3 separate regions of the Homo sapiens genome follow, and all the other regions are linked to region 3. Evidence: promoter capture Hi-C in human tissues and cell types (Jung and others, 2019). All regions are on one chromosome and are shown on one strand. Each heading gives the region's core, a stretch centred on a gene start or on the middle of the fragment in contact. The rest is flanking DNA. Distances are from core to core; before and after follow the strand shown. Region 1 has its middle 600 kb from the start of PRELID2. Region 2 has its middle 35 kb from the start of TCERG1. Region 3 holds the start of PRELID2 (PRELI domain containing 2).

Region 1 (3,791 bases), core at 61-2,560, 590 kb after region 3:
TTATGGCCTAAGTGATTTAGTAAATGTAAGAAAACGATGTTCACTGGTCAGTGTAAGAGGGAATATGAGGAATCTGTGTCTGTAAGCTGAATAAATACATTTAGCTGTATTGAAATTAACCTCTGTAGCCTGGAGCCAGAATGTGGAATATAAAGAAACAAAGATGTGGGATAATATACATTCTAGATAGATAAATGACCCATGGACTCATATATTATCAAGGTGTAGATTTTCTACAGTGGATTTCAAGTCCTGAACTTTTTACGCCTCTCCATTCTTCATATTTTGAAATAAAATTCTCTCTTTTTAAAAAACAGATAATATGTGATAAAGGAATAACAATAGGCAATTCTATTAGTCAAGAAAGGCTGAGTGCTATGACAAGAGCAACGAAACATGTAAAATGCAATGCGATATACATTTATTTCTCATTGGTGAATGATGGTTGCATGTGGTTGGTGGTGGTGGAGCTCTCTTCCATAGTCATTTATACATCCAGGCTCCTTTTATCTTGTGATTCCACCTGCTCTAGGTCCTTTGGGTGATCTCTATTCTGCTGGTTGACAAGGAAATGAATGAGAATCGTGTCTTCAAGGTATTTATGAGCCAGACCAGTAAATGACACACATCAATTTATCTTACAGTCTAGTCTCATAGATGTATCTAATTGCAAGAAAGGCTGAAAAATTAATTTAGTTGTGTTCCTAGAAACAAGAGAACAAGTAGCATTTATTGAATGCTTACCTGTGCCAGGTACTGTTCTGTGTCCACTTTATGGGTCAAATCACTTAATTCTGAGAACAACCCTAAGAGATTGATACTTTAATTATATCATATTCCAGATGAGGACGCTGAAGCCCACCCAAGGAAGCTCTTTAACCTGTTTGAGTCATAGAGCTAGTGAACAGCTGAGCCAGCATAGGAGATCAAATAATCTGGCTTGAGAAACCAGCTTCGAAATCATTACACATTCTGCTTTTATACACATAAACAAGGTTTATGGAATCACTATAATATTCACTAAATGTAGGAAACAAACATGTTAATTTTTTTATATGTCATCTAAGCTTATAAGATCATAACACCTAGGATTGACACAGTGGTGGTATAAAGCAGTTATAGTATGAAATTCAGTCATAAGCAACAGGAGCCTTTAAAATGGGATTTGCCCTTTGGCCCAGCAATTCTACCGGTTTTTAAAGAAACCCTCAAATAAATACAAGAAGTTGTACGTAGAAAGACATTTATTATAATGTTGTTTAAAATAGCAAAAATGTGGAAACAACCCAGCTGCCTGATAATAAGTATAGTTTCAATAAATGTTGAGATATACACAATGGATTATTTTGTAACTACTAAAGATGAGGATGCACATGGATACTTATAAAGTATGTTTATTTACTATTTATAAATATGTAAATTACAAAATATTGTATATATCAGAAAAAAATATTTTTGTTTAAAAAGTGTATATTTGTATAGGAAAACCTTGGAAAAGACAGAAACAAAATGTTAATATTGGTTAATGCTAGGTGGTGAAATCTTTGGTTTTAAAAACTTTGCTTATTTTTATTTTCTAATACTTCTATAAAAGCATGCTTTCCCTGTCTGATGAAAAAAAGAAAGCAATAAAGCAGAAAGTGAAAATTAAAAAGAAAATACATTTGCTCAATGTAGAGAGTGCCAGTGAGATGTACCCATTTATAAATGCCATAAAACGTCAGACCATTATGAGGAACCATCTATTAAATTCATTTTCATGCATTCAATTATCATATGCTCATTCATCCTATTATCAACAAGAAAGACGCAACCTTGTTGTCAAAGAACTTATTTAGGAGGGAGAAAAGAGGCAAAAGATGTACCAAATTCTGAGAAAACAGCATTCAACGATATGCTTTGCTGGGGGCCATATTTTTATATGAAATAATTTAGCACAAATTGTGGCTGCTATCAATCACATTTAGTTGTCATTATCATCCTTAAGTTATTCAGTGGCAGAAAAACCATTCTCATTTTGCCAGGACCTTACCTCAAATGTCTGAGAATATTCTAAAGAAGCTTCTATAAGGGTCCATTCATCAGATGAGAGGGCCACTTGAGTAGGGCAGAAGCTTATAGAATTTCTTAAGGACTCTTATGGGTTAAAAATCTTCTGAAATATCTCCATGGATAACTTACTAGGAGGCCTTGAATTTCTTTTTAAATAATGGCATTTCCATTTTTCATGGTGTATATTTGAGCTTCTGGAGAGCGAGGCATCAATTTGATTTAATTCAATTCAACAGACATTTATTGTAATTGCATTATATTTATTATAATTGCATTATAGCATTTACCATCACTTCAGGAGGAATCTCAGTAATTAGAGACCTCAGCAGTCAGTCATTTTTGCCTTTTGTCTAAGTGTAGGATACCTCTGGGCCTCTGCTGACCCAGAATACTGTGCTGTAATTGTCTGTTTATCCCAGGAGACAATATCCTTGAGACCAGAGACTATGTCCTCTCATCACTCCAAGTGATTCCTGGAACATGGTAGGCACTCATAATTACCTTCTGGGAAAATCCACTCCTCATTCTTTTGCCCCTTTTTAACATTTAATTGCTCATTAGTATTTCTTTCAAAGGAATTGCTAGAGAATAGCTAGACAAGAGGAGGAATCATTGGTCAGTCATAAACATTTAATGAGATAGCTGAAGAAATTACAGTTCGGATTAGAAGATTATAGCACAATTTTAAAATTAGTACTTGCCCTCGTAGAGCTCATACTCTTACTGAGACAGTGCACATAGTCCCAGAAAAAATGCTTCAGATGTTTAACTGTATGTCACTGAAAAATTCACATTAATGTGTGTGTGTTAGATAGATAGATAGACAGATAGATAGATAGATAGATAGAGACAGATAGATACCCACACATTATTTAATATAAACTAGTATTAGGAAATTAGCTCAATAAAGCAGGTAAATAAGTGATGATTTAGATAATTGATGATTCAGATAATTACGTGACTTCTTTATTGAAGGAAAGTAGTTTTGTGTAGGCTTTCATTTGCATATGAAGTGTCCTAAGTAATTTTAATCACTTCATTCTTAGAAATGTATGGATTGTGGTAATATGAGGTTCATTTATAGGATAGTGGGGACATAACAGGGGAGACCTTTCACAAGGTGGGAATATAAAGTAACAGAGTAGTCAGATGTGGGTGTAGCTATTCTGGGTATGTGAATTTTGAAAAGGGTTTGAAAAAAGTCAAGAAAAAAACATTTCATTCATTTAGTCATTTATTTATTCAACAGATGCTTAGTACATATCTGGCATAGGAGAAAAAGGCATGGAAAAGTAGCAATAGGAAATGTGTAAATAAATGCATTTAGGTTTTACATAGACAAATTTTCTCCACTGAGGTTGACATATTCTGTGGGGGAGTCATAGAACGTCCTGAAATCGAGGAGTGCTGAATGAAATTAAGAGCTAGAAGTGTTGAATAATGGAAGAAACATCCGCATTGATGTCAGCAAGTCCTGGTTTTGAATCTTGGCTCTATTTGTTGAGCAAACTACTGTCATCTGTGAAATGGGGATAACAATTACCTTATATGGATAAGTGAAGCATTTAGCCTCCTAGAATAGCACCCTAGCACATAGAAATGTATAGCAAAAATTGCTTCTCTTCTGTCCTCTTTCTCTTCTGTAATGTGGCCCTTTTCATAGCAAGCTAATAGGGAGGCTTGGGGAACCAAACTTGTTACAGTGAACTCTAGGTGGCGCTCTAGCAATGTAAGAGAGG
Region 2 (4,023 bases), core at 72-2,571, 580 kb before region 3:
TGCCATACTTAGGCAAGCTTGTGTGGAACAGCAACAGTGCGATATTCATAGAAAACAATGGAAATGTTCTAGTCTAGTAGAAAAAATAACTTTCAAATGTGATGCCAAAATAGCCAAGCATATAACATAGATAAAAATGAATTTTAGGCCCAGCGCAGTGGCTCAGGCCTGTAATCCCAGCACTTTGGGAGGCCATGGCGAGCGGAAGACCTGAGGTCAGGAGCTCGAGACCAGCCTGGCCAACATGGCAAAACCCCGTCTCCACTAAAAATACAAAAAAATTAGCTGGGCATGGTGGCATGCACCTGTAGTCCCAGCTACTAGGGAGGCTGAGGCAGGAGGATTGCTTGAACCTGGGAAGCAGAGGTTGCAGTGAGCCGAGACTGAGCCACTGCACTACAACCTGGGCAACAGAGCTCTCGAGACCCTGTCTCAAAAAAAAACAAAATTGAATTTTAAAAGATCATATTTCTTTAAATGGAGAATTCAAAATACTATTAAATGTGATAAAAGATATTAGAGATACAATTTTTAAATTAATAGTAACTAATTTACGTAAATTATGTTAGGACAAAATCATATTGAGCAACTAATATTTATCTTCTGATGTACCATCATCTGATGATGGTGGGCAGGCCACACTTGCATCTGATAGTTCATCAGATGATAAAAATTGAAGTCAAAATTGTGTATGTTATTGATTTTATACCTATTGTAAAAAGTAGAATTGAAAATACAATTTTGAATTTTAGACATTGATTTAAAAGAATAATGATGGCAAGCTAATGATAATGGCAGTTGGTAAGGAACAAGCATTTATTATGAGGCATGTGTGATACATAGTTTGAATTTCTTATTAAGGGACATGTTCTCAGCTGTGTCAAATGGGTGATTGCATCTTCAGAACAATTAAACAACTACATAGGATATTTTCTGTATCTGTCCAAAGATGAAACAACTTGAAAAAGCTGTTATATGTTTGTCACTAAAACACTTTTGGACACACAAAGGGAATGCTGACTAAAAGCTATTAAAACAACAAAATTTTATTTACACCAGATAACAAGATGCACTGGAAGAGTATGAGAAATAAAAGATAATCCTTAAATAAAAAGAATCATGGCCGGGTACGGTGGCTCACACCTGTAATCCCAGCACTTTGGGAGGCCGAGGCGGGCGGATCACGAGGTCAGGAGTTTGAGACCAGCCTGGCCAGTATGGTGACACCCCGTCGCTACTAAAAATACAAAAATTAGCCGGGTGTGGTGGTGGGCGCCTGTAGTTCCAGCTACTCGGAAGCCTGAAGCAGGCGACTCGCTTGAACCTGGGAGGCAGAGGTTGCAGTGAGCCGAGATCGTGCCACTGCACTCCAGCCTGGGTGACACGGCAAGACTCCATCTCAAAAAAAAAAAAAAAAAAAAAAAAAAAAAGGATCATGATCTTTTTTTAGAATTTTAATTTTAGGTTTGAGCATACATGTGAAGGTTTGTTACATAGATAAACGTGTCACAGGGGTTGGTTGTACATATTACTACATCACCCAGATATTAAGCTCGGCACCCAACAGTTATCTTTTCTGCCCCTTCCCCTCCCCACTCCCCCCACCCCCAAGTAGACCCCAGTGCCTGTTGTTTCCTTCTTTGTGTTCATGAGTTCTCATCATTTAGTTCCGACTTATAAGTGAGAACATGTGGTATTTGGTTTTCTGTTCCTGCATTACTTTGCTAAGGAAGGAATCATGATCTTTGGCAGAAAATTATTTCTGAATCTGCACTATCTATGGTTATTTGGTAGAAACTGTTGTTTTTAATGATGTTAGCAAAAGCTTGCAGAAATTCTAAAAACTGGAACCAAATAATGAGTTTGGCTGTTTTGCCTTTTTACGATTAAATTTTTTTATAGAGAGAAAATAGTTACTCTAAATTGAAATAAACTGCATGTAAAATATGTAACAAATGTGACATTTCTATAAAATATGAGAAAATCAGAACAAGTAAACAAAAATGTTTGCATCACTATAAAAGAGAATATGCACATACAAATAATCCCCAAACTAATATCTGTTGAGATCACTTTAGGTTTATTAAAAATAAAAAAAAACTTACCAAAATATTTTCTGGATCTGGATATTGTTTTTAGAGAAGGTAAAAATTGCAATGTAAGTGATAGATTTATATTATGAAATTAAAATTTTTTGTAGTATTTTCTATCGTAACAACAATTTAAGACCCCATGATAGTATTTGAACTTTATATGTAAAATCCATTGCCAATTTCTGAATGTAAATGTTACAATAACTTTGACAATTTCAGTTGCTATTGACTTAACAGCAAGTTTTCTCCATGATGAAATTAATTTAAAAATAAGAATACAATGGCTAAGAAAGGGTGTTGAATTTGGCATTACTATCTTTGAACATAAATTATGTAAAAATCCTGATTGGAAGAACGTAACTGTAATTTTGCTAAAATGAAGACAAGAAAAAATAATTTTTATATAGCAAATATATAGTCATGTATGAATTATGTATGCCTTTGTTATTACGCATCCAAACATCAGCCAAACAACAGAACTGCCAGTTATGTACAGAAAATTAAAGATCAGTCAACTTTAAAATTTGCTGATATTCAGTCATATGAAAAATAGTTCTCAACTTTGTTTCAAAAGTAGAAGGATACACCACATTTTTTTTTAACAGTCTGTTGGCTTGTTTGTTAACAAAAAAGTTAACAAACTCTAGGCCCACAAATTTAGGGGTAGGTCTGACTGAGCATATGTTAATTTTATAATTAGTGCTTGTAAGAACTGCTGTTTAGTTAATGTTTATTATATGTTGGGCACTGAGCAAAGTACTTTTTATACAGTAGCTCACGGCACCTGTATGAGTTAATTTCTCATACTGAGCTAAGGAAACTGAGGCATAGAAGGGCAAAGTTACTTGCACAAACATTGTCAAAGCAGAATCAAGTGGACATTTACTATACCTACTCGGAAATGGGACTGCCTGTTAAAGGCTGACAGATCACTAGGAAATGTTCTTTATAAATGCAATGCCTCTGCTGGATAATATCTGTCCCTCTACCCCAATTCATGCAGCCTGAAACTCCACCATTATGCATTGATTCCTCTTGGCTTTAAAGCCTTTTCAGTCTCCAAAAGAAACCAGTGGAAATGCAAATGCCCCCAGGGGATATAAGACGACAGCATATTAAGCCAGTGTTACTTCTCCTGTATTTTCCACCAAAGTAACCCATCAAACCAAGAGTGAATTCTTAACCCCCAGGAGTCTGAGGACTCAGCCCAAAAGATTTTGATCAATTTCTTTTGAGTCTTGTGCTGTCTATTTAAAATCATGCCTATATGCTTTTCCATACTACATATATTTTTAACATACAAATGTTAGCTCTTCAAATAAAAACGATGCTTCACAATAGACTCCATGTTCATCTTGGAGTTCAAGGACTCCATGGCATACACACTCCTGGTTTGTGAAGCAGAGCCTTAAACTACTGTCAGTGGCTACCACTGTGGAGTTTCCTTAACCCTCAGCTGAGAGCAAGGCCCAGCAGAAAATGGGGAAGAGAATAAAGGCCTCAAGAAGTTGCAATAATGATGAGAGGGGAGGAACTAGAAGTGACAAGGCGCCTGGGTTACCTGCTTCCCAGTTTGGTAGAGGACCTGTCCTGTTGGTCTTTTATTTTACTCAACTTTCTTAGTCATTTCAAAGTCTACCTTTGACTGTTTTAAAGGGAGGTAAACTGTCTGTCATTAGAAATGTGCAAGCAGACTAGACAGCTGCTTGCTTTGACGGCTATGGGTCGGGAACAGGGACAGTGGGCTTCAATCAATGAAAAGAGGAAACTTTCAAATTTGATGCCCTATAGTCCTGAAATTTTGTTACTCTTCTGAAGCATGAGTTTCAGGAAAAATGTACTCAATTCAATAAATATTTATTCAGCACTTTTATAAGTGCCAGATGCCTGGCAGTGGTGGAGAGGACAGTCTTCCCAAAACTCATAGTTT
Region 3 (3,906 bases), core at 1,407-3,906:
GAATTAATTATTGGATTTAGCAATTTGGTCATTGGTGACCTTGACAACAGTCGTTTCGGTGAAGTGGTGGGGGCAAATACTGATTGGAATGGGCTCAAGAGATTACAGGCAGCTCTTTTGAGGAGCATCAGTGGACCAGAGACTCGGAATACAGCTGGAGGAAGATAGGGGGTTAAGAGTTGTTTTTTTTGTATTGTTTCTGTTTTTGTTTTTAGATGGAAGAAATTACAGTGTACTTGTTGTGCTGGCTGGAATGGCCCAGTAGAGACAAAAGCTGATGATACAGAAAGGAAGGGGGATATTGCTAGAGAGATGGCCTTGAACAAGAAAGAGGACAGGAACTTTTAGTGATGTACTAGAGCTGGCCATTCAACACAGCTATTATTAAAGTATATAAATTTACAATCACATATAAAAATTAATAAATATTTATTTATTTGAGATGGGTCTCACTCTGTGGCCCAGGCTGGAGTGCATGGCACGATCATAGTTCACTACAGCCTTGAACTTCCGGATTTAATAGAGCCTCTGGCCTTAGCCTCTCAAGTAGCTAGGACTACAGGTGTGCACTGCCACACCTGGCTAATTTTTTATTTTATTTTTTGTAGAGATGGGGTTTCACTATGTTGCCTACACTGGCCTCAAACTCTTGGCCTCAAGTGATCCTTCTGCCTTGGCCTCCCAAAGTGCTGAGGTTACAGGCATGAACCATAGGAGCCTGGCCAAAGAGTAATAAACATTGAAAACTCATCCCTTCCTGCTACATTTTCCATTATTTATGTTTTTGGTTCTTTATGGCTGTCGTATGTGGGTGGTGGAAATACTATGTGATGGTGTGCTTCTGTGCTTCCCTCCCCAACTCCCACTCCTCACTCAACTCCATGTTGCTAAATCCCCAACTTGTGTTTAGTGACATCGAGTTGGCATCTTTAAACATGGTAGGAGTATTTACACCACAGGAATCAGCAACCTTTGGAAATCAGGGCCTTGCTTGATTTATACTTTAAAGGACAGCTATTTGTTAAACATTTTTCAGTTCACCTCAGGATTCAGTGGACAAATGGAGACACTGGTGCTAAAACAAAGTGCTGACAGTTCACCCACAGGAACAAGAGTGAAGGCAAGGCATTTGGTCTGGTGGGTAGAGAGGTGGCAGAGCGATGTGACCTATTGACTAAGTGAAAATGGAAGTAAGGTAATGACTGGAGTATAAGGCTGGGAACAAAGGTGTCAGAGGTGTGGAGGAATGCGGGAGAGTAAGTGGATTAGAGAAATTCAGTACTCTCTTTTTTTTTTTTTTTTGAGATGGAGTCTTGCTCTTGTCGCCTAGGCTGGAGTGCAATGGGCGAGCTCTGCTCACTGCAACCTCCGTCTCCCGGGTTCAAGCGATTCTCCTGCCTCAGCCTCCGGAGTAGCTGGGACTACAGGCGCCCGCCATCACGCCTGGCTAATTTTTGTATTTTTAGTAGGGACAGGGTTTCACCATGTTGGCCAGGCTGGTCTGGAACTCCGGACCTCAGGCGATCCGCCCACCTTGGCCTCCCAAAGTGCTGGGATTACAGGCGTGAGTCACCGCACCCAGCCAGAAATACAGTACTTTCATAGTGTATTTGTCTGGCACCATTAAAAGGCGCCATAGGGTTAGTGGTTATGAACTTAAAAGATGCACAGTGGGTGTGTATTTTCCTTCAGCCCCTTCTGGTGGCTTGGGTAGAGACAGTCAGAGGAGACCTAGATTTACACAAGGCTAGGGTTTTGCCAGACCAGTGTGACTGCGTATGGCAGGGGCGAGCGAGATGGCAAAATCGTAAAAGTCATCACCTCAGAGACCCTCCATAATCACCCTCACTAAAATCATGTCCGCGCCCGTGTCACTTTAACCGATTATTGTTTTTATTTTCCCAGCTTGTTGATTGGGTGTGAAATCAGCCGGCTCATCAGCAGAGCTGGTGTTTCCTCCCTGCGGAATCCGCAGTGCCCACTACAGCGCTGGGGCATAGGAGGCCTCAGAACCGTGCTGAATACACGGATTAACGTGCTGGTTCTCCTAACATCTGTTGGTTGCAGTAAATAATAATACTCGCAACTCTTTTGTATCCTCTAGTTCCTTGCTCCGTGGTGTTTAACCTTAGCGAGCAAAGGAACTTACCTGCAGGTTTTGGTGCACTAAAACGCGGTTCTTATTCCCGAGGCAATCTTTACCTTACACGAGGCCCAAACCCAAGCCTCAGAGGCAGCTGCCTGGTGGCATGAGTAATGCTGGCCTTTGTCACACCAGGCCTTCCTTATTAATACTTTTTTCCCGTGCTGCCAACCACGGCTTATTCTGTGACTCCAGGCGGTGATACCATAAACGCATAAGCCCAAGGTCCAGGTTTCCTGGGGCGGGGCGTGATGGCTCCCAGGCAGAGAAGCTTTTCTCGGCAGGCGCGGCCGCGGGAGGGCACCAGGGCCGCTCTGGCGCCGCCAGCGTGGAGACCGCGGGGCCCCGGGTGCTCTGGGAGCGCTCCAGCGCCTCCCGCGCTCTGTAACCCCAGGCCCCGGACTCTGGCAGTAGGGGCGTGGGCGTGGCCGACTGCGCGTTTCTCCGAGTGGCCAATAAAGTTTCGAAAGTTTGAAAAGCGGAGGAAAAAGGCCACGCCCATGTGGCTGTCCGAGTGTGGGCGCCTCCGGGCCTCTGCGGAGCCCTGGGCAGCTCTGAGCTCGCGGAGGCGTGGCCGGTGCGCGGGGCCCGCGGCGCGCGGGGATGGGGGTCTCGGTGGATGTGCACCAGGTGTACAAGTACCCCTTCGAGCAGGTGGTCGCCAGCTTTCTCCGAAAGGTACCGCCCCGCTTCCACCTTCCGTATCCCGCGCTGCCTCCGCTGCTTGCCCCTCTCTCCTCTCCTTCATCCACGCGGAAGCTGGCACCGCCAGTGTCTCTTTCCAGCTGCGGGCTTTGCTTCAGGGATGTGTGGGTCGAGAGGGATTTCCTCGAAGACTCCCTTTACAGGGAGCGGGAAAAGGGGCCGTGCTTGGCATCACGTTCACACCTGCCCCAGCTGAAAGAAGAGGCTTTCCTTTTAGGAAGAGCCTCCGGGAATCCCAGCTCGTGAGCTCCGTGGAGTTGCAGATGACCGACGTGTGGAGCTTTCCGGTTCATCACTGACCCCTTAAAAGCGAGGGGAGGCCATTGGGCAGTCATCCTGGTTTACTCAGCATGATGGTTCTGCTGCCCCATCCGCTGCTCCTTATTAAACAGCTGTGGGACATCGTGCAGGTTGCTTACTCTCTTTGTGCCTTAGTTTGCTAATCTGTAAAATGGGGAAAATAATAGTACCGACTCATAGAGTTGTTGTGAGGATCCAAATGAGGTAACTTGTGTAAAGTGCTTAGCACAGTTGTGACCTAAATGAAGAAACTGAGGCAAAATCAATATAAAAAGAGAGTTCATTCGAGCCAAGTTTGAGGGCTGCATCCTGGGAGTGAAGGTGCCCTGAGTATACATTCTGATGAGCAGAAGTCGAAAGTGGGTTTTTAAAGGAGAATAAGAAGCACTTCCTAAGTTGTTTACCAAGAATTTATATTAAAATAACATAAACTATTGATTGTCTGTACATTGTTCTTTGTATCACAAATTCCAGGAACTTGAAGATAATGGGTAAGGCAGCTGGTCAGGAACAAAATGCCTTTAACCAGTTGCTCCCAGGAATGGGTTGGGTGAGGAGGGGACCACTAAAGTCCTATACTCTTGTCTCTCTGGGCTTGATTGATTTTGCATATTTCACTGTAACTCACACAATCTGCTCTGAGCTATTTTTCTTTTTCTCACTGCTACTGATGTTTAGTTAGGGCTCTAAAATGTTATTGTTGTTTGTATTACTACAACCGATTTCAATACAGATAATGAACTCTTCCTCAATACTGA

What was found. Contacts are between HindIII fragments. The study calls those that stand out against the background at their distance.
Region 1: a contact is called between a fragment that was not itself captured here and the fragment with the promoter of PRELID2 in region 3, in 1 of the 25 tissues and cell types used here (dorsolateral prefrontal cortex).
Region 2: a contact is called between a fragment that was not itself captured here and the fragment with the promoter of PRELID2 in region 3, in 1 of the 25 tissues and cell types used here (mesenchymal stem cells).

What each region holds. Positions count from the first base shown.
Region 1 is chr5:145,238,073-145,241,863 of GRCh38, reverse strand. It overlaps a transcript of PRELID2 not described here. Among named protein-coding and RNA genes, the nearest start is that of PRELID2, 600 kb to the left of the region's middle. The HindIII fragment of the contact is 4,775 bases long and covers 1-3,697 here.
Region 2 is chr5:146,410,018-146,414,040 of GRCh38, reverse strand. No RefSeq gene overlaps it. Among named protein-coding and RNA genes, the nearest start is that of TCERG1, 35 kb to the left of the region's middle. The HindIII fragment of the contact is 4,106 bases long and covers 1-3,374 here.
Region 3 is chr5:145,834,092-145,837,997 of GRCh38, reverse strand. PRELID2 (PRELI domain containing 2) reads left to right here and starts at 2,656. Exons shown (of 7, transcript NM_205846.3): 1 at 2,656-2,821. The coding sequence starts at 2,747. RefSeq lists a silencer at 2,345-2,464. The HindIII fragment of the contact is 8,273 bases long and covers 1-3,906 here.